Regions from separate parts of the Homo sapiens genome. Here region 2 is linked to region 1. The links are contacts of gene promoters, found by promoter capture Hi-C in blood cells and fetal thymus (Javierre and others, 2016). All regions are on one chromosome and are shown on one strand. The core of a region is centred on a gene start or on the middle of the fragment in contact, and the rest is flanking DNA. Distances in the headings are between cores, read along the strand shown. Region 1 holds the start of CACNA1I (calcium voltage-gated channel subunit alpha1 I). Region 2 overlaps TNRC6B (trinucleotide repeat containing adaptor 6B).

Region 1 (5,652 bases), core at 1,362-3,861:
TTATTTACTTCCCAGCACTTTTTATTCACTGAGTCAACAAATATCGATTGAGCACCTAGTATGCTCCAGGCACCATTCCAGGTGCTGGGGATACAGCAGTGAGGGGATACACCTCCCTTACAGGCTTCTCTTAGGCTGGGGAGACAGACACCAAATCATGGAGATATAAAGACATAAATTATGCACCGTGTTTGATGGTGATAAGAGTTGTGGAAAAGCAGAAAGAGAGAAATTAATTGATCGGTGTGTCTCTCTCCTCTGCGGAAGTGTGGGCTGAATGGGGGCTGGTGCTGAGTCTGGCTCGTGCCCCAGCATAGCCCGAAGCCCACACAGTGCCCACACATAGTAGGTGCTCATTGGGCAAATGAATGAATCAGTAGGGCCTGGGAGAACAGGGCCTGGGCGGAAGGAGAAGGTGCCCCAGTGAGAGGGAAGAGCGGGAGCAGGGCCTAGGACCTGAGGAGGTCCAATCTGGCCAGAGCAAATGGCCAGGGGAGGGAGTGGTGGGCTCCGAGGCTGGCACGGTGGTGGGCAGAGCTGGAACCACCCTAGGGAGGGTGCGTTTCAGCCCAGGAGGTTGACACGTGGCAGGCCAAGGTGCCTGGGAGCTTATGTAAGGCCCGTGGCTGTTTTTCTGGAATCAAGAGCAAAGCCCTGAGCTCAGGAGAAAACTCCGCCTCCCTGACCAGCCAGGGGAAGTGGCAGGAGGTGCCAACCCCTGCCCGTTGCCCCCGGGAGCCAGAGAAATGTCCAAATGCATCAGCTCCGGGTGGCTTGGTCGACAGCCCAGCAGCAGCTGGGTGGGCACCAGGGACGTGGACCCCATCTCTCAATCCCACGGCTCAGACTGGCCCTGTAGGGGTTCTAGGATCCCAGGGACCCCAGTGGACAAAGTTTTAGGGACTAGTACCCTTTGGGGTGAGGTGGTGAGGGGCAGGCCCTGGGAGTGGCTGTCCGTCCCATCTTGCCATTGACTGGTTGCGGAGGCTCTCGGCCAGCGAGGGCACCATCAGTTGTCATGAAGCCCGCCTGGGGGTCTGGTGCTGGGATTCTGGCCTCTCAACACCACCTAGTGCTTCACTTGGCTGGGTGCATAGCCTTGACAACCCGCTTTGTTCTCTTGGCCTCAGTTTCTTCACCTGCCAAATGGGCATAATAGTCCTCCTGAGGTTGTTGTGAGCATCAGACAAGGCCAGGGAGTAGAAGTGCTTTGAGTTGGAGTCGGAGCCAGCAAGATGATTTGCATCACCTAGAACAAAATGAAAATGTGGGACCTCTTGATAAGCAATTAAGAATTTCATGTTGGTGACAGAAGAATTCTAAAGCAAGTTCAGGGCCCTTCTGAGCACGGGGCCCTGTGCAGCTGCCTGAGCCACAGACCCAGGAAGCGGGCTCTGACCGGAATTCTTTTTTTTTTTTTTTTTTGGTGACAGAGTCTTGCTCTGTTGCCCAGGCTGGAATGCAGTGGTGTGATCTTGGCTCACTGCAACCTCCACCTCCCGGGTTCAAGTGATTCTCATGCCTCAGCTTCCCGAGTAGCTGAGATTACAGCGTGTGCCACCACACCCAGCTAATTTTTGTATTTTTAGTACAGATGAGGTCTCACTATGTTGGCCAGGTTGGCCTCAAACTCCTGACCTCAGGTGATCCACCCACCTTGGCCTCCCAAAGTGCTGGGATTACAGGTGTGAGTCACGTGCCTGGCCTTTGACTGGAATTCTATTTCTGCTGTTACTCTGCTACATGTCTGTCCTGTCCCTTCTCTGGGCCTCGGTTTCTTCATCTGTAAGGCAAGGAGGTTAGACTCTAAGATTCCTGGGTTCTCAGCCTTGTAAGGCAGTGGCTGGGAGGTCCCTGGGTCAAGGGCTCAGCTGTAGGTCTCAGCTCAGGGGTTACTTCCTCAGGGAAGCCAACTGTGATTCCCTCCTGGCTTGCCAGCGTTCCCCCAGTCTCTGATTCTGCAGCACCCCAACATTGCCTTTGTAACCTGCATTGTCCTGGCAATAATGTCTGTCTTTACAATCACCTCTTTTTTCTTGCAAGTTTTCTTTACCTTTGATGGTGCAATAAATACATAGCTCTAGTCTTGTAAAAAAGTTAAGATCCCTTCCTTCCTTCCTTCCTTCCTTCCTTCCTTCCTTCCTTTCTTCCCTCCCTCCCTCCCTCTCTCCCTCTCTCCCTCCCTTCCGTCTTTCTTTTCTGTCTATAATTACTTAAACATTTTTTCTCTTAAATAATGAAAGATTTCAAATACAGAAAATTGCCAATAGACAAAAAAAAAAGAGTTAATATCACAATTATATTCTAAGAAGGCTTTATTCTCCCCACTATCTTCGTTTGCCAAAACTGAGGCTCAGCCAGGGTGAGCAGACTTGCCCCATGATCACCCAGCTTGGAAGCAGATTCCAAGTTGGGTGCAGCTGGGCCCTCAGCTGTTTCGTAATCCTCATGCAAGAGTGAGGGTGAGGGGCCTGTGGGGCTCAGGTGGGGCTGTCAGAGCTGCATCCGTCCACTTATTGGTGGAGAGGCAGGTTGGGGAGCATGTACCAGGCCTGTCCCCACCACGTGCCACCCTCTCTGTCTTCCCCAGGGCTCCCAGCTCAGTGTGGACATGGCTGAGAGCGCCTCCCCGCCCTCCTCATCTGCAGCAGCCCCAGCCGCTGAGCCAGGAGTCACCACGGAGCAGCCCGGACCCCGGAGCCCCCCATCCTCCCCGCCAGGCCTGGAGGAGCCTCTGGATGGAGCTGATCCTCATGTCCCACACCCAGACCTGGCGCCTATTGCCTTCTTCTGCCTGCGACAGACCACCAGCCCCCGGAACTGGTGCATCAAGATGGTGTGCAACCCATATCCTCCGCAGCCTCGGCTGATCGGGGCCCTGCAGGGGCTGAAGGGTGGGGGGCTGGATTGAGTCCTGCTGCTCACACCTTGCTCCGGCTGGGAGACCTGAGGTCTGCGGTGAGGCCACTGGGCCTTGGTGGTGGTGAGCGAGCTCAGAGGGTGGGTCTGGGGAGACCTCAAATGGATGAGGACCTGGTGTTCTGCTGATGTGAAGGTTCTGGAAGTTGCTGGTGGCTGTGGGGTCAGTCCAGTGGCTGGCTGGCTCAGAAAGTCCTTGAGTGTGGGCCCCAGACCTGTGCTGGGCTGGGAATGCAGATCAGTCAGACTCTGGAGCCACCTGATGGGCCGTGACCATACAGAGGATGGGAGCCGTGATCAGGAACTGTGGGCGTGGGCAGCGGGGCAGCCGATCCCAACACACAGGGCAGGACTCATTCTCCTTACTGTGCCTCCGAGCAGCCTCTTCCCAGGCCTCCTGCCTCCACTTGCTGCCTCCAGTGGGCTCATGTTCCCCCTGCTTAAGACTGTCATGATTTGCTATGGTCCTGGAGGTGCAGAGCAAAGTCCTAATCCAACCCATCAGGGCCTGTGTGTTCCACCCAGCCTCACTTCCCACCACTTGGCTTCCCCCCTGTGCTCTTCTGAGCCTCAGGGTCCTCTCACTGGCTCTTCCCCCTGTCTGAAAAGCTTTTCCCTTCCCCCTGGACCTGGCCAAATCCTTTGCTACATCCTTAAAATCCCAGCTTAAGCATCACCTCCTCAGGGAAGCCCTCTGGGATTCCTCCTCTGCTTCATATCTAACTGTCACATCTAACTGTGGAATTCTGAATCTAACATTTGCCTCCCCTGGGGTACTGTCAGATGACTGGGATGGGGACCCTAGCACCTGGCACAGTGCTTGGCACATCGTGGGTGCTCTGGCAGTGTTTGCTGGGTGTACATGGGCAATGCCAGAGCTGACTCCTCAATAAGGAAGAGCGTTGGTTGGGTAGAGAGGGTAGTGGGAGGCAGGAGGAGGGCATGGCAGGAGCGAAGCCTGGAGAAGGGAGGAGTTGCAGGCAGTGTTGGAGCCCTGAGGGGCAGAGAGGAGTGAGGTGAGGCTGCAGGTGTGGCGGGAGCCCTGCAGGGCCTTGGAGGCTGCATGAGGGATGGGACTGTGCTCCAAGGGCAGGATTTGAAGCAGGGTCTGGAGAGATCTGTGCTCTGGAAGGACTGTGTGGCACTGGCTTGCAGGGTGAAGTGGGGGCTGGGGACCACTGAGGAGGAGGCTTGGGGACCCAAGCCATGGTGGCCTTGTGGTTTGAGGGTCCCACCAAAAAATGCCCATATGTGGCTCGAGGTTCTGGTGCTTGTGGCCACACAGGGCAGGGTGCGGGGAGCTGGTGGGTCAGGTGCAGGCCTGAGTCCTGCCCTGGAATCCAGGGATGCCAGATGCAGGCTGGGATGTTGAGACTGGCTGCAGGACTGCCAGGCTTCCCTTCTGTAGGGGGCTGAGGTGATCGTGGGCCCTGGATCCCCCTAACTTTTGGAAACCAGCGGGTCTCTGCTGGAGTGGGATGCAGAACTGGGTGTTCCTTGCTGGGTGGGGGCTAAGAGCCTCCCTGCTCCTTCTGGGGGACGGCTCACAGCGTCTCAGGCTTGGTGAGAGGGTCTGCTCGGTAATTAGTTCACCCAGCACTCACTGACATCTGCCCTGGGACACTGAGGACAAAGAGGCAGAGCTGGTGTCTGTCCCAGGGAGTGCCCGGGGAAGAGGGAAGCAGGGACCACCCATTTGGCTAGTTTTTTTTTTTAGATGGAGTCTCGCTCTGTCACCCAGGCTGGAGTGCAGTGGCGCGATCTCGGCTCACTGCAACCTCCGCCTCCCAGGTTCAAGCAATTCTCCTGCCTCAGCCTCCCGAGTAGCTGGGACTACAGGCACCCACCGCCATGCCCTACTAATTTTTGTATTTTTAGTAGAGATGGGGTTTCACCATGTTGGTCAGGCTGGTCTCGAACTCCTGACTCGTGAACCGCCTGCCTCGGCCTCCCAAAGTGCTGGGATTACAGGTGTGAGCCACTGTGCCCAGCCTACGTGGCTAGTTTTAATACAAAGCACTGGGGAAACCTCAGGGGCTTGTGGCATGTGAACAGAGGAGTGCCAGGCCTGAGAAGGGGGCGGCCGCAGGAATTTTGGGCCTTTAGGAAGAGAAAGGCTGGTAGGAGGACCAGGGGGACAATTTCACAATGTCTCAGGGGCCTTTCCTGGGTGAGATGACAAGAGTTGATTCTGGCTCTGTCACTTGGGTGCTGTGTGACCATGAGTAAGTCACTTTGCTTCTTTGAACCTTAGGGGGTCTGGATGGGCAATACTGCTCTGGGCTGGAGGCAGGGGCATGGCTCAGAGGACTTGGCCTGGGAGTCTGACCCAGCTGCGTCTCTGATGGGCTCTGGCTGGGCTGGCTGGGGTGCTGCCCACGTGTCACGGAGAGGCCCCTAGATGGGGGTGGTCAAGTCCTGTCTGCCATGTGTGTGACCCTGGGCAGTCTCCTCTCTCTGAGCCTCAGCACCTCCACCTAAAAAGGAGACGGCAGACGAATCACCCCTTCCAGCCCTGGGAGCCCAGGGTGTTAGCCACACACGCCATGGGGGCTGCCTTGATCTCAGGCACCCTGACGCCTGACCACTGAGTGAGCCAGCCCCTGGGAACCCACCCAGTTTTCCATATTTCTGGCCTGTTGGGCAAACAGAGTCCTTGGGGCCACTGTCTCCTTGGTTTTCACCACCCCTCTCACCTCCATCCTCAGGTCATGTGGGTTGTGGCCTGGGGTT
Region 2 (5,652 bases), core at 1,280-3,779, 630 kb after region 1:
CCAGATAACCCACCACTGAATAAATGAGTGCCTCAGTGGTCCAGGACCCTAAAACTGGGCCTCGTTGGAGTCTCTAGGACTTGTTGGCACCTTTATTTGGAAGTCAGGGTAGAAAAAACAGCTTATTTGTTCATTTCTTTCTCCTAGAATATTTCTATTCTCCTGAGGCAGGGATGAGTTGGTTGCTCATTTTTAGATTATGGAACTCTTGCTGATGTTTTTTTCTGGAACTCTTGCTGATGTTTTTTTCTGGTTTCCCTTTGTTTGGGTCGGGGCAGTGATAGGGCAGATGTGGTTCAGGCTCGCAGTTATGACCTGTACTCTGCAGTAGCTTCTCTCTGAGGTTCTGTGTAACCAAATTTTAAAACATTGCTCTGAGTCATGCTGAGTTTTTCCATAAGGCTCTGGTCGGGGGGAAGGGACATGAACTGATTCATTAAGTGCCTATTATGCTGCACACACTTCCATTACCTCATTTAGTCCTCCCAACAACCTGATGTGGAGGATGGTTTTATCTTCATAAGAAAAAAGGAGTGCTGACAGCTCAGTGACCAGGCTGCAGCCATGTACACATGAGGAGGTGGAGGAACTGGGTGCTGTAACTCCACCAAAATTTTCTTCTCTTCCCAAGCTGCCTTAAACACAGTGCAGAGTGATTTGCTAATTGATTGGTTGAATCCCTGTATTATAAAGTGGAGTGTCTTAAAATATGGATGCAGATGACGGGAACAGCTTGCTGGCTTTATGGTGTCCTCAGCACTGCATTCATGATAAACAACAGGAGAATGAGACTGTGCTGATCGTGTGCAGAATAGGAGGTCTTTGGGAGCATCCCTGGCTGGCTGCTGAAAGGTGTTTTTCTTGTTTTTTTTTGAGACAGAGTCTCACACTGTTGCCCCTCGCTGGAGCGCAGCACATGGCTTGATCTCAGCTCACTGCAACCTCCACCTCCCGGGTTCAAGCGATTCTCCTGCTTTTCAGCCTCCCAAGTAGCTGGGATTACAGGTGCCTGCTACCACACCCAGGCTGATTTTTTGTATTTTTAGTAGAGACGGGGTTTCACTATGTTGGCCAGGCTGTTCTCAAACTCCTGACCTCATGATCTACCCCCCTCGGCCTCCCAAAGTGCTGAGATTACAAGCATGAGCCACCGCACCCAGCCGAAAGGCGTTTTTCTTTTTCTTTTTTTTTTTTTTTGAGACAAGTCTTGTTCTGTTGCCCAGGTTGGAGTGCAGTGGTGCGATTCATAGTTCAGTGCAGCCTCGACCTTCTGGGCTCAAGCTGAGATCCTCCTGTCTCAGCCACGCAAGTAATTGGGACTACAGGCATGAGCCACCGTGCCTGGCTAATTAAAAAAAACTTCTTTTAACAGAGACAGGGTCTCCCTGTGCTGCTCAGGCTGGTCTTGAACTCCTGGGCTCAAGTGATTCTCCCACCTCAGCCTCCCAAAGCGCTGGGATTACAAACATGAGCCACCATGCCTGGCCCATTTTTTCTTTTTAAGCAACATGACAGATTAACTAAAAAAGAAAAATCACTGAATGGTTAAAAAGTTTACTTCAGGTGATTAATTGAAAAACCAATTGATTAATAAAGACATTTTTAAAGGATCTAAACTGTATTGAGTTTAAGTTGTAATTCTTAAAGCATAATCAGAAGGCTTATCAAAGCTATAACGAAGAAAATAGAAGTCATTTGTAATTAGACAATAATTAAAGGCAAGTACATGCCCAGTGATTTTAAAGTGCTTGAAAACAATTAGTTTTCTTAAGTAGGTTAAATATCTGGGTTACAAGCTTGTTTACACTATTAATTTACTTAGCAAACCTGTTCTTCATAGATGATGCAAAGTTGAATTTTAGTTTGGCCGTCTGAATTATTACAAGTTCTAACTTAACAGATATTCTTTAAAAAATACATTTTTACATTAATTCTTTTTAATTTTAAAAGCATTCTTCTTTTCTCTCTCTTTTCCTTCCTGAACAGTTCAGTCCTAGAGGCTATTAAGTGGGCTCAGCAAGGTGTTGGCCTGGCCAGGGGTATCAGAGCCTGAGTAGGATGAGGAGGGAGGGTCTGGTGTGCTGTGTCAGAGCCCAGGAGAGGTGAGAAGGGCATCCATTGCTTCTGGGATGCCCTTCCTGTATTGATTGGTTGAATATAGGAGGATTGATGAAATAAGTATGTTCAGGATAATGGCCCCCAGCAGCTCTCACTGTTGAAGAACATTACAGATATTGGAAAGGAGACAGCTAGAATTAACCCTGTGATGCTAGATCGGAATCAGAAGTATTGGTGTGAATGCCTGGATTTTAATAAGGACCGATAAAAATAGCAATAAAATCTTTGCAAAAGGCATGCATGCATGTGTATTTATATGCATATGTGTGTGCACATACATACGCACATCTGTTTCCTAGTTCTGTTGGTAGTAGAGGGGGAGGGTGCCTGGGAACAGCAGTATTCCAATAGCAGTGAGTGTATCAGGTTTCTAGATCTTGGCTTCTATATCCCATTTTCCACTAAAAGGAACCCCAGCTGCTTGGAGAAATGGCTGATTATAGGATTGGAGCAGGAATGTTTAACATGAGCCTGGAACATCTTGGGTTAGAAAGCAAAGAAGTCTTCAAAGAGTGATGAAAACATGCCAAAAGGACCCAGAGTCAGTTTGAAGCGGTTCCCACTGGCCAAATCTGAGTTTATTTCAAAATTTAAGAAGTGATAGTCATGGATTAGAACCTGCTGAGTAAAAAAGAAAACTAAGAGTTCTCACACAGCTTCACCTACTTTGTAAGAAAACCTATGTACGGACTTATCAGTAAATTCAGCATTTGAAGAATGGGTTCTCTAAATTTCAAAGTACTTCTTCAAAAATACTTAATGATTACAAAGGAGAAAAAGAGCAACTTTCCAATGGAGAGGCCTGGCAGATGCCACCTTAACCAGGTAATCCCAGCAGTGGAACAAATTGAAATCATGCCACCTGCTAGGATGCAAAGAGAACACACCATTCCCTCTGCAGTGTTCCTGCCAAGGCACATGACCTCAATCTAATTATGAGGAAATGATAGGCAAACCTGGTTGGAGTGACATTCTACAAAATAACTGGCCTGTAATCCTCAAAAATTTCAGGGTCATGAAAGTCAAAGCAAGACCAAAGAATGATTCTAAACCGAAGGAGACTAAAGAGACATGTCAACTAAATGCAATATGTGATTCTGACCTCGATCTTTTTACTATAAAGGCTATTGCTGGGACAGGTGACGAAGCTTACATGGGGCTTGAGGATTTAATGATAGAAATGTATCAGCGTTAATGTTCTGATTTTGATGGTTGTATTATGGTTATGTAGGACTGTGGTTTGGTTTTTGTTGTTGTTGTTTTTCTTTTGAGACAGAGTCTGGCTCTGTCGCCCAGGCTGGAGTGCTGCAGTGGCACGATCTCAGCTCACTGCAACCTCCGCCTTCTGGGTTCAAACGATTCTCATGATGCCTCATCCTCCCTACTAGCTGGGATTAAGGCATGTGCCACCATACCCGACTAATTTTTGTATTTTTAATAGAGATTGGGTTTCACCATGTTGGCCAGGCTGGTCTTGAACTCCTGACTTCAAGTGATCCGCCCGACTCGGCCTCTCAAAGTGCTGGGTTTACAGGTGTGAGCCACAGTCCCTGGCCTAGTGATTTGGTTTTGTTTTTTGGGAAAACACATACTAAAGTATTCAGGGTGACAGGGCCTCAAGTTGACAACTTCCCCTCAATGGTTCTGGGGAGAGACAGTTCTTGGTACTATTCTTGCAAATTTACATAAGTTTGAGATTGTTTCAAAATTTTAAAATAATTTAAAAAGTAATATTCTTTTTTTTTTTTTTTTTTTTTTTTGAGACAAGAGCTTCACTCTTGTTGCTCAAGCTGAAGTACAGTGGCATGATCTCGGCTCACTACAACCTCTGCCTGCCGGGTTCAAGCGTTTCTCCTGCCTCAGCCTCCCGAGTAGCTGGGATTACAGGCGTGCACCCCCACGCCCAGCTAATTTTTTGTATTTTTAGTAGAGACGGGGTGTCATCATGTTAGCCAGGCTGGTCTCTAACTCCTGACCTCAGGTGATCTGCCCGCCTCGGCCTCCCAAAGTGCTGGGATTACAGGCGTGAGCCACCGCGCCCGGCTAAAAAGTAATATTCTTGCCTAAAATTTAAATCATGAGAAGTACATAAAATTAAATGTTCCCTATTTCTTATTTTAGCCTCCCCTTTTAAGCATTTTATTTATGTATGTATGAATGTATATGTAATATATGTTGTAGGTCATATTGAGTATTTATGATATGCTAGGCACAGGCACACTGTATTCCTGGGAATTACAATGGTCATCAGTCAAAACCCCTGCCACTAGAGCTGCATGGCCTTGTGTTATTTGGAGAAGCCATCATTTCTTTAAGTTCCCTCTCATGAGAGGCAGTGGAATGTGATGGTGGTGGGAGCTCAAGCTCTATATTCGTATCCCAGCCCTGCCAGCAACTGTGCTGAAATCTTACTCAACTTCACTGTGCCTCCGCCTCCTTATCTGCAGGCTGGAGATGTGTCTCATCCCCATTTAACAGAGCTGTTGTGAGCATCACACGTGGTGATACACGTAGGGTGCTATACTTGTGGGTGGCACATGGCAAGCACCTGGTAAATGGTAGCTCCCACTGAGGGACGTTTAGGTTATCATTCGTACTTTTATAAATCTAAAAATTGCCTTGTATACATTTTTGCACACTTACACTTTAGAATCTTTAAAAAAAATTTGGCTACCTTTCTGTTGTGAAGTTTTGCTTTTAGTGGCTTTGTTAGAGTGCTGTGAAAAACTAGATGGAGAATAGGGAACATGTCTCTGAAAGTCTGTGCCATATAGGGCTGGAACTTGAGCAGTATGAGATAAATACTGGCTTATTTTCAGATTTTTCTCTGCTCAAGGGTTGGCCTACTAAAGTTGTTTTTATGTGGTGTTTGGTGCATTTTCTTTTTCTTTTTCTTTTTTGTTTTTTTTTTGAGACAGGGTCTCACTCTGTCACCCAGGCTGTAGTGCAGTGGCATGATCATGGCTCACTGCAGCCTCGACCTCCTGGACTCAAGTGATCTTCCCACTTCAGCCTCCTGAGTAGCTGGGACTACAGGCGTACTCTACTACACCTGGCTAATTTTTTATTTTTTGAAGAGACAGGGTCTCGCTGTGTTGCCCAGGCTGGTGGGACTCAAGCGATCCTCCCACCTCGGCCTCTTGAGTAGCTGGGATTAGAGTTGTGAGCCACCACACCCAGCCTCCATTTTCAAATACAGGTTGAGAATCCCGAATCTGAAAATCCAAAATGCTCTACAACCCAAAATGCTCCAAAATCTGAAACTTTTTGAGCACCAGCACGATACTGAGAGTGCTCATTGGAGTATTTCGGATTTCAGATTTTCAGATTCAGGATGCTCAACCAGTAAATTTCATGCAACTATTTCAGAATCCGAAAAAGTTTGAAACACTTCTGTTCCCAGACATTTCAATAAGGAATACTCAATTTGTAATACCATTTTAGAATAGTTAGGCGAGCTTTGCTCAGGTTTGAAAGGGTCACGTAATGTTAATCACTAGGAAATACTTTTGTCTCAAGTAGTGTAAGCCAAGA

Evidence for each region. Contacts are between HindIII fragments. The CHiCAGO score rates a contact against its expected background, and 5 or more counts as called.
Region 2: a contact is called between a fragment that was not itself captured here and the fragment with the promoter of CACNA1I in region 1, in 1 of 17 cell types (erythroblasts). The highest score is 5.1, in erythroblasts.

What each region holds. Positions count from the first base shown.
Region 1 is chr22:39,568,142-39,573,793 of GRCh38, forward strand. It overlaps CACNA1I (calcium voltage-gated channel subunit alpha1 I), which reads left to right and starts at 2,612. Exons shown (of 37, transcript NM_021096.4): 1 at 2,612-2,847. The coding sequence starts at 2,612. The HindIII fragment of the contact is 9,228 bases long and covers 1-3,526 here.
Region 2 is chr22:40,196,425-40,202,076 of GRCh38, forward strand. The region is part of intron 1 of TNRC6B (trinucleotide repeat containing adaptor 6B); the gene reads left to right. Among named protein-coding and RNA genes, the nearest start is that of TNRC6B, 21 kb to the left of the region's middle. The HindIII fragment of the contact is 1,470 bases long and covers 1,795-3,264 here.